3 separate regions of the Homo sapiens genome follow, and all the other regions are linked to region 2. The links are contacts of gene promoters, found by promoter capture Hi-C in blood cells and fetal thymus (Javierre and others, 2016). All regions are on one chromosome and are shown on one strand. Each heading gives the region's core, a stretch centred on a gene start or on the middle of the fragment in contact. The rest is flanking DNA. Distances are from core to core; before and after follow the strand shown. Region 1 holds the start of PSMD1 (proteasome 26S subunit, non-ATPase 1). Region 2 holds the start of SP100 (SP100 nuclear antigen). Region 3 holds the start of SPATA3-AS1 (SPATA3 antisense RNA 1).

Region 1 (2,700 bases), core at 181-2,680, 640 kb before region 2:
GACAAGAGATGAAGGTGGTTTGGGCCGAGTTAGAAGAAACATTGGTAATGGATGGATTTGAAATAGAATGAGGCCTATAGGTGGCAAGAAACTGAGTGTTTATTTGATCTTTACAAAGCTCTGACTGGAAAAACTTCCTGATACTGAACTAAAATTCATCTCGCGATCACTTGTATCTCTTGGGGACAAAAAGTCTTATTTCAGGTACAAGTGACAGCTCTTCAAATGTTTGAAAGTAACTACGTCTCCCAGTATCTCCAACGATCTCCTTAACCAATCCTCATAAAAATAAAGTTTTGATCGCCTTACCATTCAGATTACTGTCTTCTGCTCACCAGTTTGTTTACAATAAAATGCTTTCTTTGTGGGTCAAACACAGAGTAAGAAAATGAGAAAAGGGTATGTAAATAGGCAACGGAAAAAAGCACCAAGGCTCTGGACAGCTATATGCAAGTCAATCTGTAACGGGGAGCTTAAGTCTCCAATTGAAACTTGATCTCTGTAACTTACTCCATTGCAAATGTCACTACGTGAATCTACCTATGCAATGGTTTGCGCGTATGAAACCTGCTCCGCAGATCCATCCATTCTTTCTTGAATGTACAGTCAACAGACTGAGCACATAACCTCGAAAGGGTATAAGTAGGCTCTCAGTATAAAGGTATCTCCAGGGCGTCTTTAGGGTCTTCGCCGAACCCAAAAGTTCTCTGGGTGTTTTGAATGAACACCCTTGGATCGGACCCAGAAATGACCCACCTCAAACCTAATTTCGGGTTTCATTCTAAGGCGAATGGAGCTCGGCCACGTCCAGAAACACTTCTGTAGCAGTTAGGCTGCCCGATCAGGGGGGTTTGCCTTACTGTTCAATGGCACAGGGGCCCATCCCACCCCGGCCCCCTGCGGGCAAGAACTGGGGCTGGACGACCTCACACGGCCAAGAATGGGAGGCACAGAAAAAAGGTAAGCCCTTCTGGGGTCAGGGGAAGGCCCAGGAAGCCCCTCGGGTCCTGGCGCTGGGGTGTGATTGGGGAGGGATGCCGAGGCGGTCGACCCGGCTCGATTCCCTCAAGCCAGAGAAGCACGCAGTGACCTGATCAGACTCCCAGCCCCCCGGCCCGGGGGTGGGCCCTGGGCAGCAAGAAGCTGCCCAGGCCGGCGTTCCGCCGGGAGGCGCCCAGTCACCGGCCCTGACTCAGCTAAAAGCCGGCGCGGCGGCGGCTCCTCCCTCCAGGCGCTGGCTACGGGCCGCACTCACCGGCCGAGGTGATCATGGCTGCGCCCCTCACTCGCCCGTCGGCTCGCTCGCCGTTCCAGCTGCGCAGTGTATCTGTCAGCTCAGGGGCCGCTCAGTTCACCGCGCCTCCTTGCTCCCCGGGTGCGCTGCTCAGTCAGTCGCCTCCTCAGGCCGCCGGCTCGCTTCTCGCCAGGACCCCGCCCGCCCAGGGGCTGCCCGCCACCCCGCCTGCCGCCCGGCGCGAATTCTCCCCTGGCCTGCGTCTTCTGCGCGGCGGTATACTCCCCAGCCCTCGCGGAAGGGTACACAGAGAACACCATTGTTTTCTCTAAACCTCCTCGAGGTCAGGAGTCCCGCGCAACGGAACACTGGTCTGCACCTGAGGTCAGGCATTAGAATGGCCAGCCCTGCAAAGAGAGGACCCCCACCATCACCCGCCATTGCTGAGAGAAAGGGTGTTGAGGGGAGGTGCGAGCATTGCGCGCAGTGCCACCTACTGGTGGGAGGTCTCGCTGCAACACATCTCCCACCAGATAATGCTTAGGGAATTGGGGCTGCCGCAAACAGCGTTTTTTTTTGTTTTTTGTTTTTTTTCCCAGAAAAGTGGCTTTCAATTGTTTTCTAAAGCAAAACCTATCATAAAAAAAAGAAAATCCCCATAGAAGTGCTTTATTATCATAATGAATCCACAAGTAATCATTGGCTTATTATAAAGTTGAACAATGAAGGTTTTTACTTACTTTTGGAAAAATGTCCAGTGTTGTCAATATATTAAAATGTGCAGTAGTTATATGGCGAAAGCCTTTCCAAGGGAGAAAAAATGTCTTCCATTCTTTCCTTCTATCTGCCCAGGTCCTCTTTCCCCCGACGGCAGTGGGTTCTTCGTTTCTAATACATCTTCAGAAATTTGAAATGGCAGTTGCAATGGCCATTTGCAGTCTTATGCTAGCTTCAAGAAGTCAATTTATTTCAAGAGTCAGTACTGAGAAAGTCTTGACAAGGAATAGGGCAAACGGTAGCATTTTTTTCAGCCACCGGCCTTGCACTATCAAGCTAAACTCTTCAATCGCACAGCGATGGCGAGTTCATTTCTACGGCCTTCTACGTAACCTAGGGGCACAATCAATGTCTTGTGGTTGCCAGTGAATTAAATGTGCTTGATAACACATTTTGTTGTATCTGTGACTTTTTTTGTTTAAATTAGAATTCTTAAACTGTGGTTGTTTAAAATATATTAAATATAATTATTGAACATTTTTGAAGAGCCTGTGGCTCAGATTGAAAGGCAGGGCTCGAGAAGATGTGCATGCAAAGTAAACAGATTACTTGGGGTGTCATTCTACAGAGGTACTTCTTTTTTTTTTTTTTTGAGATGGAGTGTCCCTCTGCCACCCAGGCTGTAGGGCAATGGCGCGATCTCGGCTCACTGCAACCTCCGCCTCCTGGGTTCAAGCGATTCTCCTGCT
Region 2 (2,736 bases), core at 172-2,671:
TGCTACTGGTGAAATACATTCATTCAGCCTCCTAGAAAGACAATTTGGCAGGACCAAGTAAATAACTGGACCCTTTGCCTCAATAATTACATTTTTAAGGTTTAGAGACAAGATAAATATTTGTTTAGATGTAAAAACCCAAAAAGAAATATATAATCATTGTTATGATAGCTTATTGGTAAATGTGAACAATTTAAAAACAATCTAAATGTCCTTCAATTGGAGAATAAATAATTATCATATATCAATTCTATGGAATAGCATGTATAAAAAGAATGAGGCAGATCTATATGTATTAAGGTTAAAAGATCTCTAAGTTTTCCACTATTAAAATAAGTAAAAATGCAAAATGCAGACTAGCACATGTAATATAATTTATTATAAATCAAGAACATAAATTACGTATTTACAAAAAATGCATTAGATATATAAATGCATAGAAAAATATAAGAAAAGCTGTGCCCAAGACTCTTCACAGGACTGGGAAGAGAAGCTACAAGAATGGCTGAGTGGCAAAGATGACTTTTTCCTTAATATACTTCTCCACTGTTTTAAATTTTATGAACAATAATGTACAGTGTATTTCTTTTGTATTAAAAAATTTAAAAGATTAAGTAATGTTATTTCTCAACTCACTACTAGAGAAAAGTTAGGATTTCCTTCTCTTTTCTGGTCAGAGGTATCCCCCATCTTGGGACAGGAAATTGAGGTAAAAATGAAAATATTTAGCCGTTTGTCACCCTGGGCCTTTTTCTTCCCTTTCCTTCTTTTGATCAAGGTTGATGGAATAAGAACTCAGACCCTGAGCCAGTCATGGGAACAGCCGGCAGAGGCCCCTTGCCAGGACAGGTGAGACCACAGCGTCTGATGTTTAAAAGTAAGCCAGGTGTTTACCCTGGAGTGTTTATTTTCTAAAGCACCTTTTTTGACATGACATATTTGAAGGTAGAGGAAGGCTGAGGGGTGAAAGGGTTCACAGATCATGAGGAAATAGTTAATCCCAGCCACCAACAACTGCTATGTTTAGAGTGTCCCGGTCAGCTGAGCAGTAAATCCAAAACAAGAAAGTCACGTGTGTTATGGCAAGTTGAACTCACACCAACAGCTGTCCTGCTCCTGTTTAAAAAATCTGATTTCCTCATTACTTGTCTTTCATTTCATTATATAACATCGCATACCTATGTTCTTGCAAAGAAGGATTAAAGTGAAGCCTTAGGCACAAACTGAACTAAAGGCATGAAAGCTGCAATATAGCCAGAGATAAAGGTTAAAGGAAGGGAGATAAAGACTCACCTGGTGCTCAGGTCGCCGCCCCCACCTGCCATCTTCCCACCCTAGGCCCTGCGTGGGCCTCAGAGCCTGGCCTCTGAGCCCCTCAGTCGGCCCAGCCTGCGTGCAGTGTGGCTGCCCAGGCCCCAAGCAGGAAGTCGGCCGACAGACTGACTCAGAAAGGGCTCCGCCCAAATGGGGAAAAGAGAAGTGAAAGTATTTAACCTCCTTCTGGGCTACGGACACTGTGTTTCTCCTCCTTTTTCACTCCAAGGGATTCTCAGCTTTTCTGAAATGTGGCAGAGGGTTGGAGGAGAGGCCTGACAAGCAGCAAGACCTGCAGGACCAGGGAAGGAGGGCCCAGGGGACGAGCAGGGCCAGCTCCCGGGTGTCCACTTGTTTGTGCAATACACAGCCAAAAAAAATGTCCTTGAAACAAAATTGTCCTTAGCTGCTCTGCCCTCTAAGAGGGGGCATAGTTTACATGGGAGTTGGGGGGGAAACTCCATGTTTGCCCCTTCCCCTTGCTGACATGGCTTGGGGTGGGAGTTGGAGGGTTGGAGGGAAAGCCAGAAACCTCAAATCTTCTCTCAGGCCCATGGGAGAGCATGGACTGGACTAAGGTAGGTCCTGACATTGGGACCCAGGGCTGGAGAGAACCAAAATGCTCAGCATTATAACCTGGGGAGAGTGTGCTTAGCCTTCCTGGAAATCAGCCAGAAGTAAGAGAGAACTCTCCACACCCCTGGGACCAGAGGCTGGAGCCAGCATGGTAAGAAAGGCAAACATTTTAAGGGGCAAGGGTTTAAGGAATCTTGACTATGGGGCCGCCTTGGAACAGCCAGGGGTGAAGAGACACCTAAGCTTCGGAGAAGTCACTGGAATCTTGAGAGAACAAAAGCTTCTCATTGGAGGAGGATGGAGGTTGGAACCCAGATGATCTAGACATGGAAGGGCAGGGTGGCTCCCGCGGGAGGTTCTATCTCTGCCCAGATTTTCCATTTAGATTCTGATTCATCATTCCTCAGAGAACAAGAAGCGACCGAGAAGACTCGCTTTACATCAGTATAAAGTCATAGGTAAAGAAACAGAAGCAAAGGGCGCATGAGAATGGGGCCACAGGACACAACCAGGGACCAGAACTCCAGGCCGGACCATGGGGCAGAGACAGGGAGGCAGCTGGGAGCCTGGGGGCGCTGGAATCCAGGGCCCAAGGTGAGCAGAGGGTGGAAGCTGGTGAGGATTCAGGGGCCAGAGGGGATGGCACTTCAGAACGGTGTTTTCCAAATGGCATTCTACTGAATCCAACTTCTTCCAGCTGTGAATAAGGATGCTTGTCCAGGTACATTTGAAAATGTGGGGGAAGGGGCTTTCTACCCTCACTCTACTTCTGCTCTTCTTTTCCCCATGAGTGAATGACCAGGCACCAGGACATTGGTGAGGACAGCTTTGCCGGTGGGCGAAGGT
Region 3 (2,700 bases), core at 162-2,661, 580 kb before region 2:
TGTTTTCACACTGCTGATAAAGACATATCTGAGACTAGGCAATTTACAAAAGAAAGAGGTTTGTGGAACTTACAGTTCCACGTGGCTGGGGAGGCCTCACAATCATGGTGGAAGGTGAAAGGCACATCTCACATGGCGGCAGACAAGAGAAGAGAGTTTGTGCAGGGAAACTCCCTTTTTTAAAACCATTAGATCTCATGAAACTTATTCACTATCACGAGAACACCACGGAAAAGACCCTCCCCCGTGATTCAATCACTTCCCACTGGGTCCTTCCTACAACACCTGGGAATTCAAGAAGAGATTTGGGTGGGGACACAGCCAAACCACATCAGACCCTTAGATCTCTGAGGACAATAAGGAACAAGTCTATTCACATCTTCCACTTGACAGACAGACATCCTCCAATTCCTTCAATTGACTGTCATACACTAAATGGTCTCCCTGATCCTTCTCATCCTCCATCAACCCAGACTATCTTCCTTGGACTAGTTTGTCAGGCATCTTTTACAGCCCAAAAGGATAGCTTGATGAGGACAGAATAAAGCAGTATCATCACCTCCCTTATTCTAAACCATATACTTCTATAAATGCATCCTTGGTTTTTATTTTTTAGCAGTTGCATGGCACTGCTGATTCCTAGTGAGCAAGTATTACTATGGAACCAAGTTAAATGTTTATATGTATGTGTGGCTGTCTTCAGTGAGACTCAGGATGATGAGAAATGACAAAACCCAGGAATCCTGGTCTCTTGGGTAGAAACAAAAACAAAAACCTTCCCACTCTACAGCACAGCTCCAGGATACACGTTAACCATGCATCACTATCCTACAAGAACCAGCCTTTGGGATGACCCAGAACTCCATCAGCAGGAAGGCTGGAACTGCTGAAGCTAGAAGACAGCCCACCTGCTTTCCTGGATTGAGGGGCTGCCTTCACGTTAGCATCTGGAGATAAAAGGCAGCAAGAGGAGCGGCGGATTTCGGGTGCTGGAAGGGCTTGGAATGCTGGCTGCCGGGAGGTGGTTTCAAGGCTGGAATGCTGTGGTGTGGATTCAGGGCTAGGCTGCTGTGGTGTGGATTCAGGACTAGGCTGCTGTGGTGTGGATTCAGGGCTAGGCTGCTGAGAGGTGGAATTGGAGCTAGCATGCTGGGAGGTGGAGTCTCGGTGGCGTCTGGCCTCTGACCTTTTCTTCTTGACCTTCTTCATGGTAGATCCTCCCAACCTAAACGTGGACCTACATGGAGCTGCGTAATCTCCCGGCTCCCTCCTGGAGGGGCCGTTTGCCCTCTGCCCTAGGAGCCTGGCTTGGGCCTCCAGCTGGACCCAGGCCCCACAGAGAACAGTGACCCACACCTCCTGTGAGGTCATAAAAGCCAGGGTGGCTCCTATGGCAGGGCTTCAAGGGACAGTCTTCTCTGCAGACACCAGCCTGGTGTCCTCCTTCATCCCAGGCTGCCAGGCTAGGCAGGGGACAGCGGCTGCCCTGGTCCTCACAGCCCTGGCTACGGGGCTGGTGACAGCCAGATCCTCATGCTTCTGCGACCTGAGCGCTGCCTTCAGACACCTCTCTGCTGGCGTGTTCCTGGGTCCATGTGAGCTACCTGTTTTGCTCTAAGATACCCTGGATGTGACGCTCAGCTCTGTCACTGGCTTCCACATACCCCCTACTCCTACACCTCAAAAATCCATGTTCCCCACGCATTCATCTTCAGGTCAGCTTCCTGAAGATTTGGAGCTTCTTCGAAGGCTTTACCATGGCCCAGAGCCTGCTACCATCTCAGAGTAGCTTACCCCTTCCCCCAAAGCCTGCCCTCCCGCACTGTGGGAGGGGAGTTTGGGGGTTGACTTGACTTTTATAAGAACCTTTGCATTTGGCAGATAATTTTCCCTGAGAACATAACAGCTGTTCAGAAAACTAACATTTGTCTCAAACTCATGGCAATGGCAACCACAGACTATCTCCCAAACCCCAATTGGTTGGGTTAAACAGGTGACTGAATCTTTCTCTAGATTAATTAATTTAATGTGCTCATTAAATGTGATTTTTGTTTTAGGATGGAAGAAGGAAAAGTATTTTTAAAAGACAATCTGAAGCTCATACTGTGACTGCAACATAAAATGTGTTCACCTGAGGAGACTGCTTTCATCGCCAGTGTGTCACAGGTGGGTGAGTGTGGGACTGGCAAGCGCAGGAGCTCCTGCCCCAGCGGAAGGTTTAGAGCAGACCTATGCAGATAAAAAGGGCTTCGGTCACGCCTGTAATCCCAGCACTTTGGGAGGCTGAGGCGGGCAGATCACGAGGTCAGGAGATTGAGACCATCCTGGCTGACATGGTGAAACCCCGTCTCTACTAAAAATACAAAAAATTAGCCGGGCGTGGTGGTGGGTGCCTGTAGTCCCAGCTACTCGGCAGGAGAATGGCGTGAACCTTGGAGGTGGAGCTTTCAGTGAGCCGAGATCGTGCCACTGCACTCCAGCCTGGGCGACAGAGCGAGACTCTGTCTTAAAAAAAAATGGGGGGCTTTGGGCCACACAAAGCCAGACCCAACATGAACTCTGAAATGACAGGACATAGTTTAGGGCTTCTAGAGCCTAAAAATACCTTAATGATGACCTTTCCTCAGAACACTGAGGTTTAGCGAAATTAAGTTACTTTCCCAGGGTCACACAGCTGGCTGGGGGCATCGGAAGGACTAA

The links. Contacts are between HindIII fragments. The CHiCAGO score rates a contact against its expected background, and 5 or more counts as called.
Region 1: a contact is called between the fragment with the promoter of PSMD1 here and the fragment with the promoter of SP100 in region 2, in 8 of 17 cell types (activated CD4 T cells, total CD4 T cells, non-activated CD4 T cells and 5 more). The highest score is 9.6, in activated CD4 T cells.
Region 3: a contact is called between the fragment with the promoter of SPATA3-AS1 here and the fragment with the promoter of SP100 in region 2, in 4 of 17 cell types (naive CD8 T cells, activated CD4 T cells, total CD8 T cells and 1 more). The highest score is 7.9, in naive CD8 T cells.

Annotation. Positions count from the first base shown.
Region 1 is chr2:231,055,597-231,058,296 of GRCh38, reverse strand. PSMD1 (proteasome 26S subunit, non-ATPase 1) reads right to left here and starts at 1,430. Exons shown (of 25, transcript NM_002807.4): 1 at 1,256-1,430. The coding sequence starts at 1,271. LOC112268432 (a long non-coding RNA gene) reads left to right here and starts at 551. Exons shown (of 2, transcript XR_002959456.2): 1 at 551-960. RefSeq lists a silencer at 1,340-1,529. The HindIII fragment of the contact is 9,212 bases long and covers 1-2,700 here.
Region 2 is chr2:230,414,886-230,417,621 of GRCh38, reverse strand. SP100 (SP100 nuclear antigen) reads right to left here and starts at 1,421. Exons shown (of 29, transcript NM_001080391.2): 1 at 1,294-1,421; 2 at 1-31. The coding sequence starts at 1,325. RefSeq lists an enhancer at 1,255-1,774. The HindIII fragment of the contact is 2,432 bases long and covers 1-2,135 here.
Region 3 is chr2:230,994,743-230,997,442 of GRCh38, reverse strand. It overlaps SPATA3-AS1 (SPATA3 antisense RNA 1), which reads left to right and starts at 1,411. Exons shown (of 6, transcript NR_033879.1): 1 at 1,411-1,595; 2 at 2,058-2,166. It overlaps SPATA3 (spermatogenesis associated 3), which reads right to left and starts at 1,322. Exons shown (of 5, transcript NM_139073.5): 1 at 909-1,322. The coding sequence starts at 1,209. RefSeq lists an enhancer at 1,278-1,811. The HindIII fragment of the contact is 18,304 bases long and covers 1-2,700 here.